2 separate regions of the Homo sapiens genome follow, and region 2 is linked to region 1. The links are contacts of gene promoters, found by promoter capture Hi-C in blood cells and fetal thymus (Javierre and others, 2016). All regions are on one chromosome and are shown on one strand. The core of a region is centred on a gene start or on the middle of the fragment in contact, and the rest is flanking DNA. Distances in the headings are between cores, read along the strand shown. Region 1 holds the start of PRDM15 (PR/SET domain 15). Region 2 overlaps UBASH3A (ubiquitin associated and SH3 domain containing A).

Region 1 (4,766 bases), core at 1,228-3,727:
TGGAAGCTCTTGTCTGTTGTTTTTTAAATTTTCAACTCATTTATTTTTAATTTCAAACCTACGGAACAACCCATATAGCCTTCACCTAGATTCACCAGTTTTGCCACATCTGCTCTCTCTCGGTCTCTGTCACGTTTGCAGATATCACAATATTTCACCCTAAATCCTTCAGAACAATTTGGTGAGAACAATGAATGGCACGGGCTACCATACTTTCAATACAATGATCACCCTTGGGAAATTTAACATTGATCCAATACTATTATCCGGTATCACTGTTCACGTTCAGATTTTCCATTTTCCTCAATAACAACCTTTATAGTTGTTTTTTCTTTCTTTCTGCCCATTTTTCAAAGTTGTATATTGCATTAATTGTTAATAATGAAAATTTGACACTTTAAGATAAAACTTTTTTTTTTCTTTTAACATTTTGGAGATGAATCTGCCTTAAGAGGTATTATTTCTAGATTGTTCTGAAGGATTATAGTGGACACATTGACAATCCTCTTGAAGACGAGATATGACGATTATTGTGTAAGTGAATTCCAGCCGTGGGCTGTATGTAGTAATAGGAGAAATGGCCTGGGGGAGGTTGAAGTCTTTGGTTTACTTTCAGTTATTCGCACTTGCTGTGGACCTGTCACTTTTTTAGTGTAAACAACCTTTTATTCACATATGCCGAGGACTGTTTCATGTCCTGAGGCCCACAGAACCAGTCATCTGGCCATTTTGGAACTGTGAGTGATGTCACTGGAGGTGCGTGTATAGAGGGAATGTCCATTAGCTGTAGTGGTGGTGGTGGGAGTGGGGTTGGGCGGAGACCTGAATACAGAGAAGGTTGTGGAAAACCTGGGAAGTGTTTGAAGATAGAGTACAGAAGGCCTTGGGAACAGGCTTCAGGGACAGGAGGCTGGAGGGAGGCATGAAGTCGCAGGTGGGGACAAGCAGGGAGACAGTGGACGCCGGGGATGCTCCAGAAAGGTCTGGGGGGCCATGGGATGGCCTACTATAGTGCAACATGGAAGCCACTGTAGAATGCTGGGCCAGGCAGAGAAACCAGCCTTCACAGATCAACACTTGCCTAATCTGTCTCCGGCTGCCCGGCGTTGCAGCCTATGGATGTGCCCAGGTGCATCCAACACTTCCCATGGGATGGCACGTAGTATGTAAGCAAATGTGATGATCACATATGCCATTCATACAAGCGAGTCCGTCTCTGGCACCATTCCTGCATGTGGGTCAAAGGCTATGTGCATTTAGAATTTTTATGGATATCCACAAATATCTGAATGGAAACTACGCTAATTTATTCTCCTACCCGTAAAGGAGCTTGTTTCTCTAGTTTCTTCAAAATTATGCTATTAAAACTTTTTTTTGTTTGTTTTTGTTTGAGACAGGGTCTCACTCTGTTGCCCAGGCTGGAGTGCAGTGACACGATCACAGCTCACTGCAGCCTCAAACTGTGGGACTCAAGTGACCCTCCTGCCTCAGCCTCCTGAGTAGCTGAGACTACGGGCACGTGCCACCGAGCCCAGCTAAGTTTTTTAGAGACAAGGTCTGGCTATGTTGCCCAGGTTGTATTAAACGTTTTAAAAAATCTTTGCTAATCTAATAAAAATGATCCCACTGCGACTTTTTTTCTCTTATTGCAGCGTAGTTGAATAGCTTCTCATATGCTTAAGAACCATTGAATTTCCTACGAACTGTCCATCCACACACTTTGCTCATTTTTCTATATACATATATATTTTTATTGGTTCACAAGAGTTTCACGTACATGAGGGAAACGAGCCCTTTTGTGGCATCAATTTAAAATCATTTTCCCCGGTTCATCACTTCTCTTTATGAATGTAGGTTTTTGCCAGGCAGCAATGAACAAGACAGTCGGCCTCTCTGAATATGGGCGGCCAGGACTAAGGTGAAAAGTCTGTCCCTTCTCCGTCTCACGTTTTGTGATGGCACACACACTTGGTGGAGGGGGTCAAGAGAGGCCACACAGGCCCCCGGGGAAGAATGGAGAGCCAGGTCCGCGGCTGGCCCGGTGCTCACCGGTAGCGTGGCGGAGCCCGCCAGGCCAGACTCCCCTCGCGGGCACAGAGCTCGTGTCCCAGGGCCCCGCCGGCCAAATCCAGAGGTCACCGTGAGTGGGGGCAAGTCCCAGGCCTGTTCTAGAGAAAAACTCGACCCACCCACCGCCACCACTCCCCAACTCCGCAAGAAACGCGTCCGAGGAGAGGTGGAGAGGGAGCTGCCCGCGCGCGTGGGCGGCAGGGCCGTGCCACGTGGGAGGGGGGCCGCGCGCGGAATTCCCTCCGGCCAGACCCGCCCCGCGCGCGCCCGCTGCCCCGTCCACGCCGCCCGCGCCCCGCAGTCCCACCCGCAGGACCCCCGGCCGCGCCAGGGTCTCGCCTGCGCCCCCCGCGCCCGCCCGCGGACTACAAGTCCCGCCATGCCCCGCCGCCGCCCCCCGGCTTCCGGTGCTGCGCAGTTTCCGGAGCGGATCGCAACCCGGAGTCCGGATCCGATCCCGCTCTGCACATTCCAAAGGCAGGTAAAGCTCCGGGCCCTGCGCCCGCCGCCCGCCCCGGCGTGCGCCCCGCCGGCCCCGGGCCGCACCCGCTGCCCCCGCGAGCCCCGGCGCGCCCTGGGCCCGCTGCCCCCCGCCCCCCGCGCCCGGCAGCCGCGCGCCGCCCCGGTCCAGCCGCCATGCCGACTGTTCTTTGTTACATTCGCCGGCTGCGGGCACCGTTGGCGATCGGAGTCAAAACCCGGCTGGATTTCCCGGAGCCGCTCCGGGATCGCCCTGCGCGCCGCCCGCCCGCCGGGTCCCGCCGCCGCGGGCGCTCCTGGCCGGGCTCCGCGCCCCCGTCCCCTGCCTCGCGCCCCCCGCCCGCCCGCGGCCAGGCCCAGCGCGGGGCCGCGGGGCTGCCGGGCCGCGCTCGCCCGTGGGCGCGGCGCAGGGTCTTCGCCGCCCCGGCCCGCGGCCCCGCGGCCCCCGCCGCCGGGCGGCGTCGTCGCCGAGGCCCCAGGGGATGTCGTTATCCCCCGCCCTCGGGTACAGCCCATGCGGGTCGCACGGGGGGGTCCCTGGACCCCCAACCCCGCGTTTAGAGAAGCTGAGTCCTGGTGATGGGGTCTCCCAGACCCCCTGCGCCTTATTTTCGTAAGCCTTTTGGTGGCAGAGAGAAGGTAGCGAGGTGGATGGACAGGTGACGCGTGCCTACCCGGGGTGGGTGGCCGTTCGGGGACGGGGCGTGCCCGGCCGCTCAGGTGAGGCCCGCCTCGCGTGGACAGGTGGGGACGGGGGCCACGCGCAGCGTCCTGCTAGAGGGGAGGTGTTCACGCAGGGGTTAGCCTTGAGAAAATAGAAATGAAAACTCATGGAAATAAACACTCCTATCTGGTGGTTAGAGTTATCACCCATTTACCTTTCTTAACCCCCTAATGTAGTGGATGGTTTTTTCCCCCACAAATGCTCAGAAATTGCCCCTCACCCCCAAGTCCCCAAAGGGAGTTTAAAACGGTAGAAACAAGTGTGTGATCAGAGACACGTGGACCTGTGTGTGTATTTAAAGCTACCAACACTCGTTTTAAAAAAACCACATTGGCTTAAGCCAGACTCAAGTGAATTTGGAGAACCTAGCTTGGTTCCTGAAGGGTGGTGACATGTGAAGGAGCCACTGGCTTTGTGATGTACCTTAAAAGGTAGCAGTGACAGTTCTCCTTGGAGAATGCAATGATGTCAACACTCGATAAGGGTGGTGATCCCACCCCGGTGCACACACCACTACCGTATTTTGTTTCAAGCTCGGACATTTTCACGTGTTCCACGTTTTCACTGCTTCACTCCTTCCCCAGATTTCCTGACATCGCTGCCTCACGGTGAACGATTAAGAAATAGTAGCTCTATAATTTAGACTTTCAAGAGCAAAAACACCATTTTTTTTATAGTTTGTTTTTCTTCTATCTGTGATTCATACTTTTTGCCGCAAAGTAGCCAGCAAAGAACAAGCTAAATGTTCCATTTTGGAAGCAGGCGGGACGGTTATTTCTCCAGAAGACAAATAAATAAATTTAAAAATCAACTGTAGTTGGAAGGCTGCTAGCTTGTCTTAGAATAATTATATTTGACAAAGAACTCTTTTCACTTAGGATGTGGCTCTCATATCATTTTCGATGTCATTATCTGTACAGAAGGCCAGGAAAGAACAGTCCTGCCATTTTGCAGATTGAAGGGAGATTTAAGGCAACTGTGTCTTCCACCCGTGCGCTCAAGAGGTTGGGATGGTGAGCGGTGACTTAAATGATTTTTCAGACTCCGTTCCTCATTTGCAAAGTGTGGATGGCCCTGCTCAGCTCCCCTCACAGTGCTGGTGTGGGCAGATATTCATTCATTCGGCCATTCATGCATTCTTTCCACCAATGTTTACTGAACACCTGTTATGTGCCCCCACGCTGTAGTGAATGGAGAGAGGGCTGCACCTGGTGGACCTAATGTTCTGGGCAGGGGAGTGGAGGTGGTGTAGACAGAAAATCATAAAACTCTCAGGTAAGACGATGGGAAGAGCATGAAGAAAGGAAGGAGGGCAGGCAGGTGGCGGGCAGGGGATGGGGCACTTGGGGGCTGGGACTAGAAGGGGCTGTCTGAGGAGGGGCCACAGTGGAGACCAGTGCTGTGAGGGAGCCTCTGGTGGAGGTGGGTGCGGTGGTGCCTGCCCCCACCAGGCAGATGGTGGCAAATGCAAAGGCCCTGGGGTGGGATGAGC
Region 2 (4,486 bases), core at 1,749-4,248, 570 kb before region 1:
GGCTACGTTTTTGTATTGTAGTAGAGACGGGGTTTCACCATGTTGGCCAGGGTGGTGTCGATCTCCTGGCCTCGTGATCTGCCCGCCTTGGCCTCCCAAAGTGCCAGGATTACAGGCATGAGTCACCATGCCTGGCCCAGGCTTGTTTTTTTTTTCAAGCACACAGTGAGGAAGTCAACAAGAGAATGTGGGTGGGGCATGGGTTGGGATGGCGTTGGTGACAGGACGTCCACTTCCAGACGGTGTCAGCAGGGGTCAGACTTGGCTCACAAACACCAAAGCGACCCACCCAGGGAGAGGAAGGAAAAAAGAGTGTCTTTTGTTTTCTTTTTTTGGGATTTCCTATTGGTTCATAGAGTAGACAGTTTACACCCAATCATGATAATCCCACCAGGCATTTCCGTCTCTGCCCTTTTCCAGCCCAGCTCTGTCCGCAAGGCTCAGTCCATACAGCGAATGGTTCCTTCTGGAGGAACAGAACCACTGAACTGGGGTCCTCTGCCTTGGGGGTGGAATGAGGGTCTGACAGAACCAGAAGCATAGAATATCGAGAAAATGCTATTTCTTGCACACTAGATCTGGAGATCTGGAGATCTGAGTTTCAAACCCATCTCATTCTCCTTGCAAAACCTGTGAGCAGCCCAGCAGGATGAGAGGGGAATTACCTGTGTCTGGCTTTGCCCAGGGTGGAGGACCTGGAAGCTTCACCCCTGAGAAGGTGAATCCAGAGATTCATTACAGACCACCTGAACACGTGACTGTGATTTCAATGCCATACCTTGACTTGCAGCACTTTAATTCATCATCATGATTAGCGAGCGTGGCACTGTGGTATCCAGGAGGGACTTGGACCCAACCACACACTTGCCGAGGAGAAAGAACAACCACCCAGGTGCCCAGCGGTGGGGTGTATTTGTTGCAGGACGTACTGCCCAGCCACCTACATCCCAGTGAATCCATCTCTTCTCTAGTCGGTATCTGCTGGGATGCGTCTAGAACAATCTCCCTGAAGACGTCATTTCGGTATGGCCTGGACTCGAAGCAGGCCTGTGAGTGGGGTGCATGCTCTGCTCTCTGTGGCTGTGTCAACTTCAAACTTCTTTATGTTTGGACACAGAAAAACTACATCATTAGTGAAATAAAACAAGGGACAGACAGATGCGTCTTTTTCTCAGGAGGTCGTGTTTGATTGACTAAAACAGCAAGGAAACTTTTATTGGGTCTGGCCTCCTGTGCATTCTACACAATGTGGGCCGTTTTTGTCACAGCCCGGGGTGTTCACCATCTTTATTTCTACAAGAGCTCCCTTTGTGTTCTGCCCTCCACTTGCCTGGGTGCTCACAGGGGAGGCTGAGGGTGCAGCATGGGTCCTTCCTGCCCTGTCTCTGCATTCACACTATAAAAGGCACTCACAGAGCCACCACCACAGCCCCAAACTGCAATCATGAAATAACACCTGCACTGGATCAGGGGGCTAGAAGAGATGAAAGACCGATGGACTGTCACTACACCGTGCTGGGATCTCTGCCTGCAGCATGAGGCACCACATGTGTGGGCTGTGGGAGCAGGTGTGACCTGTGGGCTGGGGCATGAGACTCCCCACTGGGGAGACCCCATCCCCTGCTGGACCAGCTTCCTCAGCATCACCATCATGGACAGACTCCACTTTGCTCGTGGCCCTTCTTTTGGGGCCCCATTAAATCGGGGGAGCCTACTTCTCCCACTGGCAAAGTCCTCTTCTCTCCTCTACGTGATCAGAAACAAGAATAGGAGAAGCCAAAAAAGGCCTGCAAGGGGAGTGTCTCAAATCCCTATGTCCGAGGCCCTGTACGGGCAGCTCCGCTGTGCTTGGAAGGATTGGGGTATGTTATGGCAGGCTACAGGATAACCCCCAAAGATGTTCATGTCCTAATCCCCGGGACCTGGGAATATGCAACTTTATGTGGCAAAAGGGACTTTGCATGTGTGGTTAAGGCTCTTGAGATGAGAATTGATCCTGGGTTATTGGGTGGGCCCAGTGTCAACACAAGGGCCCTTGTAGGAGGGAGGCAGGAGAGTCAGAAGCAGAAGGCGATGTGGCTGTGAAGGCAGAGACTGAGAGAGCTTGGAGGCTGCTACGCCGCTGTACTTGAGGAGGGAGGATGCAGGTGGCCTCTAAAAGTGAGAAAAGGCAAGGATCCTCCCCTGGAGGCTCCAGAAGAAACATAGCCTGCTGAGAAAATGCCAACCTCCAGAACCGTAGGAGAGTCAGCGTGTGTGTGTGTGCATGTGAGCGTGTGTGTGCCTGTGTGTGCATGTGTGTTTGTGTGTGTGCATTGCATGTGTATGCCTTTGTGTGCATGTGTGCAAGTGTGTGCATGTGTTTGTGTGCTCATGTGTGCATGTATGCATGCACGCGTTTGTATGTGTATGTGTGTTTGCATGCTTGTGTACCTGCGTGTGTGTGCATGTGCGTGTGCATGTGTGTGCGCATGTGTATGTGCACGTGTTTGTGTGTGTGCATGCTCGTGTGTGCCTGTCTTTGTATGCATATGTGCATGTGTGTATGTGCCTGTGTGTGTGTGTGTGTGTGTGTGTGTGTAAAGTTTGTGTTCTTTCCATGACCCCCAGGTTTGTGGTCATTGGTTACAGCAACCACAGAGACATAGTAACATGAATGTTGACAGCACGGAGCAGCAACCCAGTTTTGACCTGGTCGATGGTTTTCTGGGACCATTTTATTGACTATTACACCTGTTTTAGCCCATGTGGATATGGCTAAAGAGTGATGGACCCAGAAAAAGAAAAAACGATTGGGAATTTAATGATTAGACCATGGAAAATGAAGTGGTTAGATCCTTCGTGTGTGGTGAGTCTTTAATTCCTGGAAGTTAGAGTCCCGGGCAGTTGTGTCCCCAGCTGCAGACACTCGGTGTACATGCTGCAGGGCGGCATCCTCACCCAGCCACCTGCCCTGTGCTCCCCGCAGCTGGGCTGGTGGACGATGGGTCCACAGATGGGAGTTACAAAGGCGAAAGCCGGAGGGAAATATTCCGGGATATAAAAGTGCGTCTCGTGCTTCTACAAATCACATTGGGTGAGACTAAGACGCCTCTGGAAACAGCAGCATCTCCCAGCCTCTGCACATGGTTTCTGCCTCTCCACTCTGAGGTTATGACAACATCACCGTGGCTCTCAGTTGCCTGAGATCCAGTTCCTCCAGTTAAATGCTGCGTTCGCCCCGTGGGTCAGGGTCTTCACCGGTGGGTTCACCAACTCCCATTTTCCTTCCTCTTTATTTTCTTCACAGAAGCACATGCCCAGGGAAGGGATCTGGAACAGAGTTTTAAATCACTTGTTAATATCTTATAGCAAGTCCATCAATTTCAGACTAGCTCCAAAGCCAACTGTCAGGCACACCTCTACTTTGGAGGGTCTGCGACTGCCCAGGCTGGCACTGCCACCATTGAATGGCACCAACATCTGCCCTGGCGGTGCCCCGTGGGGGATGTCCCCTAGCCAGGGGACACTGGGTAATTCCGGAGACATTTCTGATTGTCACAACTGAGGATGGAGGTGCTGCCGACACCTAGCAGGTAGAGGTCCTACAAGGTGGTACATCCTACAATGAGTAGAACAGCCCCCACCACAAAGGTCTGCAGGCTGAGGTGGAGATTGCCATCCACCACTTAAGGAGTGACTCATATTCTCATATTCAGCATCACAAAAAGACACAGACATTGAGTTTTCAGACCCAAAAGAAAAGCACAAAGTGAACCTTTAGACCTCCATCCCTTCATCTGTGAAATGGATGTGTGAGAACAGAGCTTTGTGGTGAAGCCTTTTTTGTTTTTGTCTTTTCTTTTCTTTCTTTCCTTCCTCTTTCTAATGTCTAGAAATTCCTCAGGCAGATGAAATTTACAAAAATGCCAACTGGCAGGGGGGTCTGAGTGAGGCTGGTGTTGACCCTAGGGTGATTCTTTCCTCACGCTTGCAGAGGCTGTGGGCGAGGGGCGGTGATGGGCTGGTCGGGGAGGGTCCTGAGTGCTCCCTTTCCAGCTGCCCTGATTTGGGGGCCCATCATTTGGTAGAGCCCCCCCTTTGTATTTTCTGATATGCATGAGCAAGTCCAGCTTATTTTGGGGTAGGGGCAGGGTGAACGCCACGTGACCAGCATAAGAAAGTCCAGGAGTTTGGAAGTTCAAGATTGGCATCTATGGAAGGGGGTGAAGGGTCCAAGGAGTGGGTGGAGCTTTGGCCACAAAGGCTCATGGGTTTGAGGAACTGTCAGCAGCTGGTGTGTGCAGTGCTGCCACCCTTGGTTACGTGGGCCCCCAGGAGCGCCTGGGGCTGGAGGCTTGGTATGTGTATATGGGACTGTGGGAAGCGGGGCAGGGACAGGAGGAATGCATCAGAGCGCATGTGTGGGAGACCCATTTGCAGAAGCAAGAGCAACATTTTGGGAGCAGGTGGTGCCGGGGCTGCCCCGGACAGTCCCCAGGAAAAT

What was found. The method cuts DNA at HindIII sites, captures the fragments that hold promoters and counts their contacts. A CHiCAGO score of 5 or more calls a contact.
Region 2: a contact is called between a fragment that was not itself captured here and the fragment with the promoter of PRDM15 in region 1, in 1 of 17 cell types (M0 macrophages). The highest score is 5.1, in M0 macrophages.

Annotation. Positions count from the first base shown.
Region 1 is chr21:41,877,055-41,881,820 of GRCh38, reverse strand. It overlaps PRDM15 (PR/SET domain 15), which reads left to right and starts at 2,477. Exons shown (of 24, transcript NM_001040424.3): 1 at 2,477-2,551. RefSeq lists a silencer at 2,354-2,403 and enhancers at 2,554-2,603, 3,604-3,653. The HindIII fragment of the contact is 16,753 bases long and covers 1-4,766 here.
Region 2 is chr21:42,445,883-42,450,368 of GRCh38, reverse strand. It overlaps UBASH3A (ubiquitin associated and SH3 domain containing A), which reads right to left. Exons shown (of 15, transcript NM_018961.4): 15 at 2,685-3,312. The coding sequence ends at 3,175. Among named protein-coding and RNA genes, the nearest start is that of UBASH3A, 44 kb to the right of the region's middle. The HindIII fragment of the contact is 4,588 bases long and covers 705-4,486 here.